Regions from separate parts of the Homo sapiens genome. Here region 1 is linked to region 2. The links are contacts of gene promoters, found by promoter capture Hi-C in blood cells and fetal thymus (Javierre and others, 2016). All regions are on one chromosome and are shown on one strand. Each heading gives the region's core, a stretch centred on a gene start or on the middle of the fragment in contact. The rest is flanking DNA. Distances are from core to core; before and after follow the strand shown. Region 1 overlaps NR2C1 (nuclear receptor subfamily 2 group C member 1). Region 2 holds the start of ACTR6 (actin related protein 6).

Region 1 (2,902 bases), core at 358-2,857, 5.1 Mb before region 2:
CAGACCAGCCTGGGCAACATGACAAAACCCTGTTGCTACAAAATATATAAAACATCAGCCAGGCACGTGAGCACAAAAAATGGCCACAAAAAATCAGCCGGAAACCTATTTCTTCACCATATATATACATATACATACATACATATATGTATATATGTTAAAGAAAATTCAGCTTCGTATTTATTGGTTGAAAAGGGGAAGGATATTTTAATACCCTTTTCAAACTGTGAAAGTTGTTCGACACTACATCAACTCAACAAGTGGCAGCTTTTCAAAGGTTAGCAGCAATGTAGAGTCATAAACTATATTAAAATCTGTTGGTCTATCCTGCAATTTAAATGGATCCTTCACTCATGCATAATTTTGTAACATTATACACTGGTCATCCGGAAAGCAATGATTCATTGAGTTATGTACACCTTATAAATGCTGACACATTTCATCATATAGTATCATCACATGTCACACAGTCTGTAGAAAATTCCATTGTATACCTGGGAGAGAACAATACTGAAAAGGCAAATAACATTTCAGTATTATTATAAAAATGGTCTTCACCTGGTTGATTCTCTGAAGTGTCCCCAGATAATACTTTGAGAACTTCCAAATTATGTGGTATCTCTTACTAAGTAATAGGACACAACCATTTAAAAAAATGAAGATGTCAGTATTGATGCTGAACTCCTACTGATCCCACCAAAACTAGGCTCAGATTGTACCCTCTAAAAAGAATTCCCTCAAAAGCATTCCTACTCACTCTACAGCTCTTTAATTTCTTTCCTTCCTTCCTTCCCTTCATTCCTTTCAATTTTCTTCTGTGCTCCCATTGCACCTGATACAATGACCTGTCACAGAACTTACCACATTCTACTATGAATTGTCTGATTATTCAACTATCTCTCAGTAGCTTGAAAAGCTATCTTAAGTTAGGGAATATCTTTTATTTCTGGAACTCCAGAACCTGGTATATGCATTTAGTAGGAATTAGAAAAGTTTGGTGGGCCAGTGCATCAACCGTAAACTAGACATACCTCTCCCATCTGTTGTTCAATAATTTGATGTGCAATTTCTTCTATGGTTGCCATGATCTACCTGCCAAAAATAAAAAGATGTTTTATAATTAAACTCACAAAACACTCTTATTAAATAATTTACAAATAAAACTATATGATATTTAAGATTTGCTTCAAAATAATCTAGTTAAGGTGGGAGGGTTGGCTTTTTCTGAAGTTTCTTTTTTCCATTCATGGGTTGCCTTTTCCATGTGTCTTTTTTATTTTTTTTTTTTTTAAAACAAGGCCCACCCAGGCTGGAGTGTAGGGGGCACCATCACGGCTCACTGCAGTCTCAACCTCCTGGGCTCAAGTGATCCTCCCACCTCAGCCTCCTGAGTAGCTGGAACTACAGGTATACACCACCACACCTGGCTAATTTTTTATTTTTTGTACAGATGGGGTCTCACTGTGTTGCCCAGGCTGGCCTCAAACTCCTGGGCTCAAGCAATCTTCCTGTCTCGACCTCCCAAGTGTTGGTATTGGAATTATCAGCATAAGCCACCATGCCCACCCCTCCATGTATCTTTTTTTTTTTTTTTTTTTTGAGATGGAGTCTTGCTCTGTCACCCAGGTTGGAGTGCAGTGGCATGATCTTGGCTCACTGCAAGCTCCACTTCCTGGGTTCATGCCATTCTCCTGCCTCAGCCTCCCAAGTAGCTGGGACTAGGCACCTGCCACCACGCCAGCTAATTTTTTTGTATTTTTAGTAGAGACAGGGTTTCACTGTGTTAGCCAGGATGGCCTTGATCTCCTGACCTCGTGATCTGCCTGCCTCGGCCTCCCAAAGTGCTGGGATTACAGGCGTGAGCCACTGCACCCGGCCCCAGCCCTCCATGTATCTTTATATGTTTATACGGTCTTCCCTCTGAGTGTCTGTGTCCTCTTCATAGAAGGACATCAGTTATTTTGGATTACGGTACACTCTAATGAACTAATTTTAACTCAATTATCTCTTTTAAGGCCTTATCTCCAATATACTCAATTCTGAGGTACTGGTGGTCAGGACATCACCATAGGAATTTGGGATTCATATGATTTTGTGGGAGAACCGAATTCAGCCCATAACACTCAGGCATAAACCCAATAAGGAACATGCAAGATCTAGGTAGGCAAATAAAACTTTAAAATGCTGCCTAAAGACAAGAAAATCTACACTTGGACCGGCCCCGGTGGCTCACATCTGTATTCCTAGCACTATGGGAGGCCAAGGTGGGCTGATTACCGGAGATCAGGAGTTTGAGACTAGCCTGGCCAACATGGTGAAACGCCATCTCTACTAAAAATACAAAATTAGCCAGGTGTGGTGGTACATGCCTGTAATCCCAGCTACTCAGGAGGCTGAGGCAGTAGAATTACTTGAACCTGGGAGGCGGAGGTTGCGGTGAGCCGAGATTGCACCATTGCACTCCAGTCTGGGCCACAAGAGTGAAATTCTGTCTCATAAAAAAAAAAAAAAAAATTAGCCAGGCATGGTGGCGGGTGCCCGTAATCCCAGCTACTCAGGAGACTGAGGCAGAAGAATCCCATAAACTTGGAAGGCAGAGGCTGTGGTGAGCCAAGATCGTGCCACTGCACTCCAGCCTGGGTGACAGAGAGAGACTCTGTCTCAAAAGAAAAAAAAAGAAAAAGAAAAACTACATCTTAAAAGGACACATAAGAAAGAAAATGGATCCAATAAGTACCTCCAAGGAAAGAAACTGCAAGTTTGGAAACAGGAATGGAAGGGAGACTTATTTTTCATTGAATAAGTGTTTGATGCTTTTAAATTTTGCTTAAATACAAGGATTACCACAAAAATTAAAGTAATAAACAAATAAGAAATCTCTTCCAGAAATCCTAAAATCAAC
Region 2 (3,089 bases), core at 121-2,620:
GATGGGGCAGGCCCCCAGGGGAGGCAAGGAGCGCCGACAGAAGGGCCCAGGCGCTTGCAGGGCGCGAGTTCCCACCTCAAGCACCGTGGCGGCTCCCGCGCTGCGCACCTGGAAGTGCGCAGGCTGCTCCGCCGCCTCGTCGGCGCGCTGGTAGCTGAAGCAGGCTTCTGCTATGTCCAGGTGGCCGAGGGGCAGCGGGTCGTGGGGGTTCTTGAAGTAGCAGAGGCAGCAGCGGCGCCCGTCCAACACGAACCGACGGCTGCGGTAGCCACGCAGTCGCGCTGGTTCCCGCGCGGTACCCGCCCCGGGCTCTGCAGCCTCCCCATCGCCGTCGCTGCCCTCCTCTGCCCGGGTTCCGGCCCCGGTATGGCTGCCTGCGCGCCAACCGTTTGTTCCCCGGCCCCCGCGCCTTCGCGCTGCGGCTGCTGCGCTCCCTGCCCCCGCGGTGCCCCCTTCCCGCCGCCCCGCTCCTCTCTCAGGCGCTCAAAGTGGCCTGGAATTTGTAGAACGCCCCCCTCCAAGCCCGTTGGCAGTTGTCCTAGCCCGCTGGCCCTTGCCCCCGCCCGCTGGCCGTTGCCCCCGCGACGCCCCGGAAGCCAGGTCCTGCCTCCCGCACCTGCCAAGTCCCCGCCCTGCCGGAGTCTCGCTCTGTCGCCCAGGCTGGAGTGTAGTGGAGCCATCTCGGCTCACTGCAACCTCCGCCTCCCCGGTTCAAGCAATTCTCCCGCCTCAGCCTCCCGAGTACTTGGGATTACAGGCGCCCGCCACCTCGCCCGGCTACTTTTTGTATTTTTAATAGAGACGGGGTTTCGCCGTGTTGGTCAGGCTGGTCTCAAGCTCCTGACCTCAAGTGATCTGCTTGCCTTGGTCTCCTAAAGTGCTGGGATTACAGGCGTGAGCCACCGCGTCCGGCCCAAAAGCCTTTTTTGGATGAGAAAGACTCACTCAGCTTCGTCCTGAAGAGCAAGTGGGCTGGGGAAGAGGAGAGTATGAATGTGAGTCCAAGAGCAAGTTTTGCACTTTTTTCTTCAAAGAATGTCACCGTCTGAAGAATGCGATTGGAAGACACACACACACACACACACACACACACACACGCAGCCGGTTCTCTACAGGATTAGAAAAAACTTGCGCGAATTAATCTGCGTAGTTAAAAACAAATACGAAATGAGCGAGAAAGCACATAGTAGTCAAATCTCGCCACCACATAAACAGGTTAAGTTTGGAAGCACAGCCCCTAACATTCGGTGCTGCTTAGCATCTCCGACTTCCGGCGTCCTCCGTTGCTAAGGTGACCAGAGGCGCGTCCTAACGCTCCGCCCAACAAACCATAGAGTACCGGAAAAAGCTCGAGCAGAGGGGTCGGAAAGGGAAAACAACTACGGCTGCGGTGTGGTTGGTGGTGAGATGACGACCTTAGTGCTGGATAATGGAGCTTACAACGCCAAAATCGGTTACAGCCATGAAAATGTGTCGTAAGTACTTTCTTTCTCCGAGGGACAAGATATATACGCCTAGTGGTTTCATGTGCTACGTTTCATCTCCGGACATCAATGAACTGCAGACACCCCCGCGCGGCCCTGACTTAGCCAGAGGGATTCCCTGGTTGGAGCTGGGTGGGTGATTGTGATGCTTTGAATTGAAATTGATTTTGGTTTTAGTTTTGGGCTGCGAGGCCCCGGAAGTGGGATATATGTTTTATTTCGTAACAGGAAATAGCCAAAGAAAATAGGCTTATAGAGATGCGTTCCTGACAGAAGGGTCCGTAAAGTTCATCAGCCTTTGGAAACTATGGGCACGGTGTTTGGGTGTATGCGGATTTTCCTGGGTACAAGATTATAGGTTTCATTAGATTCTCAAAGGGTTCTATGACCCTCCAAAAGTCTAAAAATCACGGTCTTAGGATCTAGAGGCTTTGAAGACTTTGGCCTACTGGCCGACCTAGTTGGTAAGGTCAATTAAACAGAAGTACTGTTAATACAATGGCATTCATAACATGTATAGTCATAAAATATATGTTTGAATAAATAAGCAAACCTAAAGACACGCCTTTCCTTTATCAAATTAACAGAGCATTAAAAAAAATTCTTTCCTTCCTCCCTCCTTTCCTTCTTTTTCATTTCTTTTGAAACAGAAATGAAAGAGGGAAATCAAACTGAGTAGGAATGTAAATTGTTACAATCTTTCTGGAAAACGTTTTGGCAATGTGTATCATTATCATTGTCACCGAGGCTGGAGTGCCGTGGTGCGATCTCAGCTCACTGCAGCCTGAATTCAAGTGATTCTCCCGCCTCAGCCTCCAGAGTAGCTGGGATTATAGGCGTGCACCACCACTCCCAGCGAATTTTTTGTATTTTTGTTAGAGACGGGGTTTCATCATGTTGGCCAGGCCGGTCTCGAGCCCCTGGCCTCAAGCAGTCTACCCGCGTTGGCCTCCCAAAGTGCTGGTATTAGGGGCGTGAGCCCTACACCCAGCTGACAAAGCAATTTTTTTTTTTTTTTTTGGAGAGGGAGTCTGGCTCTCTTGTCCAGGCTGGAGTGCAGTGGCACGATCTCGGCTCGCTGCAACCTCTGCCTCCCGGGTTCAAGCCATTCTCATGCCTCAGCCTCCCAAGTAGCTGGGACTACAGTTGCGCACCACCACGCCTGGCTAAGTTTTGTATTTTTAGTAGAGACGGGGGTTTCACCATTTTGGCCATGCTGGTCTGGAATTCCTGACCTCGTGATCTGCCTGCTTCAGCCTCCTAAAGTGCTGGGATTACAGGTGTGAGCCACCGCACCGGGCCATGACACAGCAATTCTGTTATTACCTAGAGAATTAATTAGAAGTGCTTTGTATTATTCATAGTCATCGTATACAGGCAGCCAAAAAATGGGAAGGAAGCTAAATAATCAGGAATAGCATATTGGCTAAATACACCAAAATACAACCTGAGACTGATAACAAATTCAAGCTTCTTAAAATTATGTCTTCAAAGAACATTTAAACATGTAGAGAAAATGCTGACAGTATTATAAGTGAAATAAGCAGGTGTAAAACATTTTTTTACAGTATTATCCCAGTGTCATCTCGTATACACATACAGACA

What was found. The method cuts DNA at HindIII sites, captures the fragments that hold promoters and counts their contacts. A CHiCAGO score of 5 or more calls a contact.
Region 1: a fragment that was not itself captured here is called in contact with the fragment with the promoter of ACTR6 in region 2 in 1 of 17 cell types (non-activated CD4 T cells); the score reaches 6.6 in non-activated CD4 T cells.

Annotation. Positions count from the first base shown.
Region 1 is chr12:95,066,300-95,069,201 of GRCh38, forward strand. NR2C1 (nuclear receptor subfamily 2 group C member 1) reads right to left here. Exons shown (of 14, transcript NM_003297.4): 2 at 1,032-1,092. The coding sequence starts at 1,085. Among named protein-coding and RNA genes, the nearest start is that of NR2C1, 5.9 kb to the right of the region's middle. The HindIII fragment of the contact is 9,664 bases long and covers 1-2,902 here.
Region 2 is chr12:100,199,445-100,202,533 of GRCh38, forward strand. ACTR6 (actin related protein 6) reads left to right here and starts at 1,371. Exons shown (of 11, transcript NM_022496.5): 1 at 1,371-1,475. The coding sequence starts at 1,408. RefSeq lists a silencer at 315-674 and enhancers at 1,167-1,461, 1,435-1,634, 2,479-3,089. The HindIII fragment of the contact is 11,223 bases long and covers 1-2,952 here.